2 separate regions of the Homo sapiens genome follow, and region 1 is linked to region 2. The links are contacts of gene promoters, found by promoter capture Hi-C in blood cells and fetal thymus (Javierre and others, 2016). All regions are on one chromosome and are shown on one strand. Each heading gives the region's core, a stretch centred on a gene start or on the middle of the fragment in contact. The rest is flanking DNA. Distances are from core to core; before and after follow the strand shown. Region 1 overlaps PDPR (pyruvate dehydrogenase phosphatase regulatory subunit). Region 2 holds the start of MLKL (mixed lineage kinase domain like pseudokinase).

The links. Contacts are between HindIII fragments. The CHiCAGO score rates a contact against its expected background, and 5 or more counts as called.
Region 1: a fragment that was not itself captured here is called in contact with the fragment with the promoter of MLKL in region 2 in 2 of 17 cell types (total CD4 T cells and naive CD8 T cells); the score reaches 8.1 in total CD4 T cells.

Annotation. Positions count from the first base shown.
Region 1 is chr16:70,158,264-70,163,074 of GRCh38, reverse strand. It overlaps PDPR (pyruvate dehydrogenase phosphatase regulatory subunit), which reads right to left. Exons shown (of 19, transcript NM_017990.5): 19 at 538-4,811. LOC400541 (a long non-coding RNA gene) reads left to right here. Exons shown (of 3, transcript NR_126007.1): 2 at 4,186-4,270. Among named protein-coding and RNA genes, the nearest start is that of CLEC18C, 13 kb to the left of the region's middle. The HindIII fragment of the contact is 2,489 bases long and covers 346-2,834 here.
Region 2 is chr16:74,699,048-74,704,053 of GRCh38, reverse strand. MLKL (mixed lineage kinase domain like pseudokinase) reads left to right here and starts at 3,192. Exons shown (of 11, transcript NM_152649.4): 1 at 3,192-3,601. RefSeq lists an enhancer at 3,289-3,738. The HindIII fragment of the contact is 1,546 bases long and covers 2,943-4,488 here.

The DNA.
Region 1 (4,811 bases), core at 341-2,840, 4.5 Mb after region 2:
CTGGAGGCTAAGGCAGGAAATCACTTGAACCTGGGAGTGGAGGTTGCAGTAAGCCAAGATCACACCACTGTACTCCAGCCTGGGCAAAAGAGCAAGACTCTGCCTCAAAAAAAAAAATTAGTGAACAGGTCAAGTCCAGGGACCAACTTGTGGATGGAAGCTGGTGTAGAAAAAGAGCACTGGTTGTTTCTCTCAGGGTTGTTTCCACAGGGTGAGAACACGACCCCCCTTGCTTTCCACACAAACCTGAGTGCACACGTGCCCGTGTGGAACATCAGGTGGCAGGTTCCTCCTGAGGTCAGCTGTAGGCAGAAGGCCGGTCGGAATTTCAGGAGGCGGGAAGCTTTTACCCCCAGCCACTCCAGCGCTGCAGGGAGGGTAAGATAAACACCTACATCTTCTCTACCCCCGTCCCCAAATCCTCCCTCACACTGGTACACACAGGGAGGTACACACTCTCCTCTGCACGCTGTTTATGCTTTGTGGTGGCAAACACATTTAAGTCACTACAGATGAAGAACATTTCACAAGCAGCCGTGCAAGAGTAGTTAAAATGTGTTTATTCATTTACAAACCCAGTAACATGAGAAGAAACTCAGTGGAAACCTTGCTTGGTGGAGACAGTGCACAGTGTTAGTGCCACATTCACAGGGGCAGAAATGCTCGGTCACCCTGTGCACCCAAAGTCACCCAGGATCTCTAGAAAAGATCCCACTTACTGAAGTGCCTCGGATGTCTTCAGGGCCAGATTGTAACTACACAGGAACAGGGAAGGGCTAAGCTGAACTGCAAATTGACAAACACAAACGATGAGTCACAGGACTCTACAGTAGTTACAATGGCATTTTTATATGTCCCAAGTGTTGACTGGAGAGTAAAGTGTTAACTGAGCTGCTAGAACACCCTTCACTGAAAGAGCTTTCTACCCCACGCCCATTGTTCCGAAGAAGGAGAGGCTATGTGGGGCGGATGGGAACCCACACACCGAGATGAACTTTTCTCTTTCTTCCAATCTGCACCCACCATCTGACATTCTGGAGTGTAAGGCACTAGAACCTGGCTTAGAGAATAGTGGGGCTCTAAGCTCCAGTTCTTGGTGTGCAAAGGAAATTCTGACATACATCTTTTGAAAGAGATGCTAAAAAACCCTCCCTATCTCCTGTAATTTCTGTCTTTGACAGACAGGAAAATAAGAAGGCAGAAGATGGTCTGCAAAGGATAAAAACAGGTGCATCTAAGAATGAGAAAAATGGCTCATGAAGAAATGTGTAACTCTCCAAGAGATGCAGACACTCTGCTCAGAGAAGTCAAGAACCATAAACAACTCTTCATGTTTCATGGACAAAGGGAAGGCAAAGGCATACAAAAATACTCAGTTGTCTTGAAAAGTGTACTGGTAGTGATCAGGGCTACAAAGGCGAGCCCTGTACTGACAATGGAGGAGCCTTACAACTCAGCACCTTAAATTGTTGGCCTGAAGTGGTGGCGGGGAGGGAGGCGCTGACGGAGAGACCCATGGCTCACCACTTATTGCGTGTACACAAGGCCTGGGGCAAGCCTCACAAGTCTACCATTTCTTCCACTCAACTGTGCTTCTCCTGAATCCATGTGCCTGAAATGACATATGCAAGGTGAACATTCTTTATACTGTGTTAATACTGCTTATATCAATGTTCGTGAGGGGTGTGTGGGGGATGGGGTGCAGCAGGAAAATTAGAATGGCAGGAGGTTCTTATTTATTATTAAGCACTGTTGACCAAACCTCTATCTTAGATTTTTTTTTTTTTTTTTTTGAGACAAGAGTCTCACTCTGTTACCCAGGCTGGAGTGCAGTGGTGCAATCTCAGCTCACTGCAACCTCTGCCTCCTGGGTTCAAGCAATTCTCCCACCTCACTGGGCCTCCCAAAGTGCTGGGATTACAGGAGTAAGCGACCACGCCCGGCCAACCAAACCTCTATCTTAGATGTTAAAGAAGACCCTTATTGACTACACTGGCCAAGAAGCAACAGAGATATAAAGCTGAATCTTGTAGCTAACCCCTGAAAGCAAGCCAACGCAAATTCCTCCGCCAGGCCAGTCTTCTAGTGCCAATATGGAGACTGTGGGCCACAGAAGATTCCCTTCTATTTCAGGTTCTCAAAAAGTGGTGTAGACTCAGGCAAATGCCAGGAAATGTGTCCATATGCCAGAGGAGACACAGAGCCAGAAATGAAGGCTATGGGTCCTGTCTTCAGTGAAACACTGAACGCTCTCGGAAAGCTCCCATCATTCTTGCATCGCTACTGCCACCAAGACGGTGGCAAGGGAGGAGGCTAACTTTCAAATGCATGCAACGGCAGGTAATATACTGTGGAAGCTGGAGGTTTACTTTTCATGTTTTAGTTACTTTCTTGCAAACAGCAGTCCAGGAAAGCAAGCAAGCAGGTAAAACTCCGGGTGTGCATGAGGAGATGATCCAAGGCCAGTGGGCCTCCCAGTGAGAACCAAACAGGAGTGGCCAGGCTCCACTCCTGGGGCCAGAGTGAAACCGGGGTTTAATCACTGGGCTATGTGGTCTCTGTGTCTCTGGCCTGAATGAGATCTCTTCAATGTCGGGGGACAGGGATCCCTGGAAGAGCGTGAAAAATACAGTGGTCACTGTGCAGTTCTCTCTGCTGGAGCCTGTCCTGCCATCATACAAGGTGCTGTGACAGCAATGCAAGGTGAAAGGAGATCAAATGGCCCAGCTCAGCAGTTAGTGTTTGTCCCTTTTTGCTCTTCAGAGTTCCTGAATGAGAGCTTTTCTGGCTTCAGTACCAATGATCACAGAAGGAACATCTTCCTGATGCAAGCTTAGATGGAAGTCAATGACCCTGGCAGTGCTAAGAACAGAAGTCACACGTGGCCTGACGATGAAGGGGAGGTAATTAAAGACATTTCAAGGGAGGGGAAGGCCCACGGAAAACTGGCAACCCTGGGTCTCCGTTTGAGGCCAATATACTTTGTGTTCCTAGGTTCAGATGGCATACACCGACAAGAGAAGGCAGAGACCATCCTTCGTGGTGAGCACAAAATGCTATGACAGGTAATTGCAGAGAGAAAAAAGCACCCAACTCTGTAAAGCCAAGTCCAGTCACCCATTCACAAGAGTCCAAAATCCTTCAAATCTCTAGGGACAGAAGACAAACGTGCTGCCCAGAATGAGCTGAGACACAAGGCAAACCCTTGGAAATGACACATGGATGAGGAGGCTGTGGTTGTCCCTCCTTATTCCTGCTGGATTTGCAGCCACGGCTCTGGATCTGGGGCATCTACTGGCCTCCCCTGTTCACTCAAGAGGCCACTGCCTCTCAGGAGTCCAGAATGCTCTGATATCTGACACCGGTGGTCAGGAAGTTATGCTGCCCTCTCCTCTTGAACAGCTAAGATGCTTGGACACTAGACAGAGGCAAAGCAGTTATGCCAGAAGCAGGGGAGAGTCATTCACTGTCAGATCTGTCTGTTCAAAGAGCTCACATTAGACCAATCACAGAAAACCACCAGACTCACACAGCTTGTATTTGAATGAACCAGGAGAGACTTCAAGGATCAACTCTAAAGTGCTAGAAGAGAAATCTGTGTTTGGGGCACTGAATAAACAAGTGATGTCCTAGAAGATCAACACCCCATCAGTCTTAGGAGTATGACCCTATTCATGGACAAGGGGTTTCAATGGACAGCCTGAGTGCTCAGCCCCCCATCCTCCTCTCCTAGCAAGACAAGCAGTCTGTTGCTCAGAGGGGGAAACTGATGTCATTTAACAGGAGGTCAGGATTTCTGGTTCTACTTCAACAAACAGTGCATAATTTTGGACACAGCATCAGATTTCCTGACTTCTTACAAAGGACAGCTAATTAAAAACGTGTCAATCTGTAGTAATTAGTTGGAGATTAACAAGGGCAGAAGAGAATCCAAGTCTTAAAACTCTATGTGGGATACATTTCTGATGAAGCTTCTATTTGACTAATATACTGTGATGATGGCACTATTCGATTTTAAACTATGGAGACAGCTTTTATTATTTCGATTTGGATCCTGGTAAGTGGTGATACTGCTATGTAACAGTTAAAGCACAAATGTATTGCCATAGTTAAGGTTGAAGAGTTATGTCTATGTGTAACTAAATTCTTCTGGATTCAATTACAAATACGTTTTCCTTTACAAAGATGGCTTTGGAGGGGTGCAAATGCTACGTGTTTGGAAGAGCAGAGGAGGCCTGCAGCTCTCAGTCACCTGTCTCCATCTTCGGAGGTAAGTCTGCTCCCTGCTGGTAATGCCTGCATCTGCCCAAGGGCCTGTTCCTCCTCTCCCAAGGCCTTCACAGCTGGTGTTCACTGGTTGGCCCTCCAGCCGGCAACACCTCTCCTCCTCTCTGCCTAGAGGCAGCATCTCTCGGCTAGTTAAGTACATACTTGCTCCAAGACAACTAGACCCCCAAACAGAATTCTAATCATATGCTCCTCTAACAAGCCAACCAGAACCTTCCAAAAAGGTTTAGGCACTAAAGTCAGTAATCACTAGGAGTGGTCTAGTTGGGGAAGTGGCAAGAAATGTCTAGAAGGAGCCAGCGTAAGTGGGTAAACAGAGATCCCAAAGAAACACCAGAGAAGGCAGACACCTGAGCATTTTAAGCTGCTCTAATGAAATGGAAGGATGTCCCTTAATACACTTATAGACCTATCAGAGCTAATGCTTCCAAGATACCAACACGCCAAAGGCTAGAGTTTTACTAACCAAAATGTCTTATAGCAGTTTATTTGCACTTAAAAAAAGTCAGATTAGGGCAGTTGAT
Region 2 (5,006 bases), core at 1,943-4,442:
AAGCGTGGTGGCACATGCCTGTAGTCCCAGCTTGTTGGAAGGCTGAGGCAGGAGAATTGTTTGAGCCCTGGAGGTGGAGGTTGCAGTAAGCTGAGATCACAGCACTGCACTACAGCCTGGCAACAGAGGGAGACTCCGTCTCAAAAAAAAAAAAAAGAAAGAAAAAGAAAAGAAGAAAGAATAATAATGGCTTTGATGTTATGCCTAAGAATTCTTCGCCTAGCCTTAGGTTCTGAAGATTTTCTTCTACATGTTCTACAAGTTTTTTTTTTTTTCAAATGTTTGTGATTTTTTTTTTCAAATGGCAACTCCAAGATAAAGCCAAAGAAACTGGGAATTATTTTTAATATTGTACAATTTTTAGTATGAATAGCCATTCTTATTAAATAGACTCATTTGGCCAGGCAAGGTGGCTCAAGCTCGTAATCCCAACACTTTGGGGGGCCAAGGCATGAGGATTGCTTGAGTTCAGAAGTTCAAGATCAGCCTCAGCAACACAGGGAGACCTCTGTCTCTACTAAAAATAAAAACATTTTAAAGGGCTCATTTAAACTTTTTTCTTTTCTTTTTTTTTTTTTTTTTTTTTGAGACGGAGTCTCACTCTGCCACCCAGGCTGGTGTGCAATGGCGCGATCTCGGCTCACTGCAAGCTCCGCCTCCTGGGTTCACATCGTTCTCCTGCCTCAGCCTCCCGAGTAGCTGGGACTACAGGCACCCGCCACCACATCCGGCTAATTTTTTTTTGTATTTTTAGTAGAGATGGGGTTTCACCGTGTTAGCCAGGATGGTCTTAATCTCCTGACCTCGTGATCCGCCCACCTCGGCCTCCCAAAGTGCTGGGATTACAGGCGTGAGCCACTGCGACCGGCCCTAAACTTTTTTCAAACATTTACATTTTCTCAACAGGAAATGTCCTTTCATTCTGCACAGTTCTCTCTGCTTTCTTCTAAAAGGTTCCTTGTTTTACATTTTACATTTAAATCTCTGATCCATTCAGGCAATTTTTGCATAGAATATGAGGTTTAGGTGAAGTTCATTTTTTTGTTCAGTTACTCCACCACCATTTGAACACCACCTATCTGGCAAAGGATTAATATCTAGAATATTTAAACTCTCAAAACTCAAGTTTTTTAAAAAGAATTCAACTAAAAATGGGCAAAAGACATGGACAGACATTTCACCAATGAGGCTATACAGATGGCAAACAAGCACATGAAAACATGTCCATCATCACCAGGCACTAAAGAAATGCCAATTAAAACCATGATGAGACCAGGCGCAGTGGCTCATGCCTATAATCCCAGCACTTTGGGAGGCCAAGGTGGGTGGATCACCTGAGGTCAGGAGTTCGAGACCAGTCTGGCCAATATGGCGAAACGCTGTCTCTACTAAAAATACAAAAAATAGACAGGTGTGGTGGTGCACGCCTGTAGTCCCAGCTACTTGGGAGGCTGAGGCTGGAGAATCGCTTGAACCCAGGAGGTGGAGGTTGCAGTGAGCTGAGATGGCGCCACTGCACTCCAGCCTGGGCAACAGAGTAAGACTCTATCTCAAAACAAAACAAAACAAAAAACCATGATGATATATCACTATTCACCTGTTAGAATAGCTAAAAATTCAGGCAGGGACAAAATAAAATGCTGCTGAGGATGCAGAGAAACTGAATGTCTTGTACATTGATGGTGGGACAGTAAAAAAAAAAAAAAAGAAAAGAAAAGAAAAAAACTTCCAAAAGGTTATACATTGTATGATTTTGTTTATAGCAGATCAGTATACCCATCCTGCAGCTGCTATGAGTGTTGACAGCTAAACACTCACACAGCTTCCCCCTCGTCCAGAAGAATTGCCCTGGGCAGAAAGGAGGCTGCCTCTTGTTCCAGACCTTCACATTCCAGACCTCCCCATGGAGCCTCCACTGACTACATACTTGTTTCACTTTTTCTTCCTCTGCCCTATCATACCCACCACTCTCCTAAGAGTCTTCCTTCAATAAATCACAGGCACCTGTGTTACTTGTTGAAGGTGTCCAGGTTCTTGGCATCTTGAACAAAGAAATGGGCAAAATGCACAAAGCAAGGAAAGAATGAGGCAACAAAAGCAGAGATGTATTGAAAACAAAGGTACACTCCACAGGGTGGGAGCCAGCGTGAGCATAGGGGCTCAAGAACTCCGTTACAGAATTTTCTGGGATTTAAATACCCTCTAGAGGCTCCCATTGGTTAATTGGTGTACACCCTATGTAAATGAAGAAGATGAAGTGAAGTTGCTCAGTCACTTACTCAGTGAACGCCATATGTAAATGAAGAAAATATTTCCTGTCATAGCTGAAATGTGTCCATTTTATTTAGTTCTAAGAAGTCAGCGTGAATCAGCTTTATGTTCCCTGCCTGCAGACCCTATTCTCCTGCCTCACCTCAATCTCTTCACCTAAGACAGGAAGAAAACTGATGATGCAGGAGACGAAGAACAATAGCAAGGCGAAGAAATGAATCTCCAAGGCCGGCTTCAAGCGATTCTCCCCTCTCAGGCTCCCGAGTAGCTGGGATTACAGGCATGCACCACCACGCCTGGCTAATTTTTGTATTTTTAGTAGAGACAGGGTTTCCCCATGTTGGCCAGGATGGTCTTGAACTCCTGACCTCAGGTGATCTGGCCACCTCCGCCTCCCAAAGTGCTGGAATTACAGGCATGAGCCACCACACCCAGCTCCCAGTTCTGTTCTTTTAGAGGCAAATAGTCTGTTGAGTAAATGCATAACACTACTTAGACTTTCTAGCTGAAGATGTAGTTAATCTTAAGAAAACCTGACTCACACTGTAACAGGATGTTCTGCAATGACCTTAGAAGAGGAAGTGACTTTTTTCCCACTTTGGTGTCTCTTCCCTCGTACCCTCCCCACCCCGCCAATATTATCCAGCACAGAGAAGCAAACACCAGAAGCTTCTCTCCAACTTTCAGTTTTTCTCTAAACTTCCAGTCCTTCTCATACTGTGTCCTGGTTATAATAGTTGCTGGGACCTTATTCTATTCTGAATCCCCAGCCCCTAAAGAAGGCTTGGTACTGACGTGTACAGCGTAGTTACCCAGTGACTTTGGGGAAGGCAGGAAGAGTGTGGAAAGGACAGGAGGAAGGAAGGGAGGGGCCGTGGCTCCGAGCTGCCTAGAAAGCGGCTCCAGGGAGCCAGGGCACCGTGAGCCTGGTGGTTGGCAGCTGGAGCCACGTCGGAGGGGGAAGTGTCGCAGCATTCTCTGCAGGCATCACAGACCTGAGGCAGTGGCCTCCGGAGGGCACTGGACAGAAACAGCCATCCAAGTGGCTGAGTGGAGGGACCCTGCTCAAGTGCAGCTGCAGTGGCCGGGGTTTCCCTCAGGTAGGGATCGGGGCGCCTTGTCGCCGCCAGCCACGTGTGGCGTCCGGTACAGTCAGCAGAGTGCAGGGTGCGGGCACCAGGAAAGGGGGCGCAGGGGAACTCCCGCGGGCCTCGCGTTTGCAAACTTCTCGCCTGGGCAGGAGGCGGTCGTGGGAAAGAAGGTGGAAGAGCGAGCTTTTTGGAACTGTGCACGGGACAGATTGGACGCACACCCCTCGGGAGGCGCGAAGGTGAGCATGGGGTCTTCCCAGGAGGCGGCGGGGCCGAGGGGCTGCAGCCGAATTCCTGGACGGTGATGGGAAGAACCAGGGGTGAGGGTGGCCCGGTCCGAGTTCCTGGAACTCAGGACCGAGTTGGTTTCATTTCCTCAGCTCTGATGGTGGAGCTGCCTGCTCGGATCTCGCACTACCTTCCGCCAAAGCGAGACGCCCAGTAGCAGTGGGGGTCGTGGAGGGCAGGGGCACGGGAACAAGTTACCTGATGTCTTCTCAGAAAAAGGAAGTCTTCAGGTTTGCAGGCTGAAGGCGTGAGAGAGAGACAGAGTGAGAGAGAGAGAAGAGGGAAATGCCTGATAACCTTTACTTATTTTATTTTATTTTTATTTTTTATTTTTTGGAGGGAAGAGGTGAATTTGCATTGTTATTACCATTTAAAGATTTTTCACTTTTAAAATTAGTAACCTGTTTTCTCATCGTAACATATGAACATAATCCCCTTTTTCTTTTTATTTATTTATTTTGAGAGATGGAGTCTTCCTCTGTTGCCCAGGCTGGAGCGCAGTGGCACAATCATAGCTCACTGCAGCCTCCGAACTCATGGGCTCAAGTGATCCTCCAACCAGATCCTCCCAAGTAGCTAGGACTACAAGGTGCACATCACCACACCCAATTAAATTTTTTTTGTATTTTTTGGTAGAGCCAGGGTCTCGCTTTGTCACCCAGGCTGGTCTCAAACTCCTGGGCTCAGGTGATCCTCCTACCTCACCCTCCCAAAGTGCTGGGATTACAGGTGTGAGCCACTGCAGCTGGCCTGAACATATTCTTAGCTGTTTGTTTTACATATTATAAATAGCACTGCAGTGAACATCTCGGTAGCCATCTATCTACAAACACAAGCTTTTCTACATCATAAGTTCCTAGAAATTCAAATTGCCCAGTCTAAGTGTGTATATATGTATATTCCCTTTCTTCCCTTGTAGATCATATACTTAATAAGACCTTAAACAATTTAAGTTATTGTAGGGTGCTTTTTCCCAATATTTTGCAGTTTTTAATATATTTTAATTTCATACAGGCAAGTCCCCTTTTCTTTATTTTTTAAAATCCTGGTTATCCCTACTAATTTCCCATTTCAAATGAACTTTAGGATCATTTTGATTTAATGCCAAAATATGTCAGTAGATGTTTTATTGGAACTGCATTAAATTGGATTTAAATTTGGGAAGGATTGCTGGGTTGGTCTGTTTTAGTCTTCCCAGCCAGAAATATAACACTTCTCTTTCCTCCTTTCTTCAAGCTTTGTTTTGTGCAATTTTCTTTCTTTCTTTTTTTTTGTTTTTGTTTTTGTTTTTGAGACGGAGTTTTGCTCTGTTGCCCAGGTTGGAGCACAGTGGTGTGATCTCGGCTCAGTGCAACC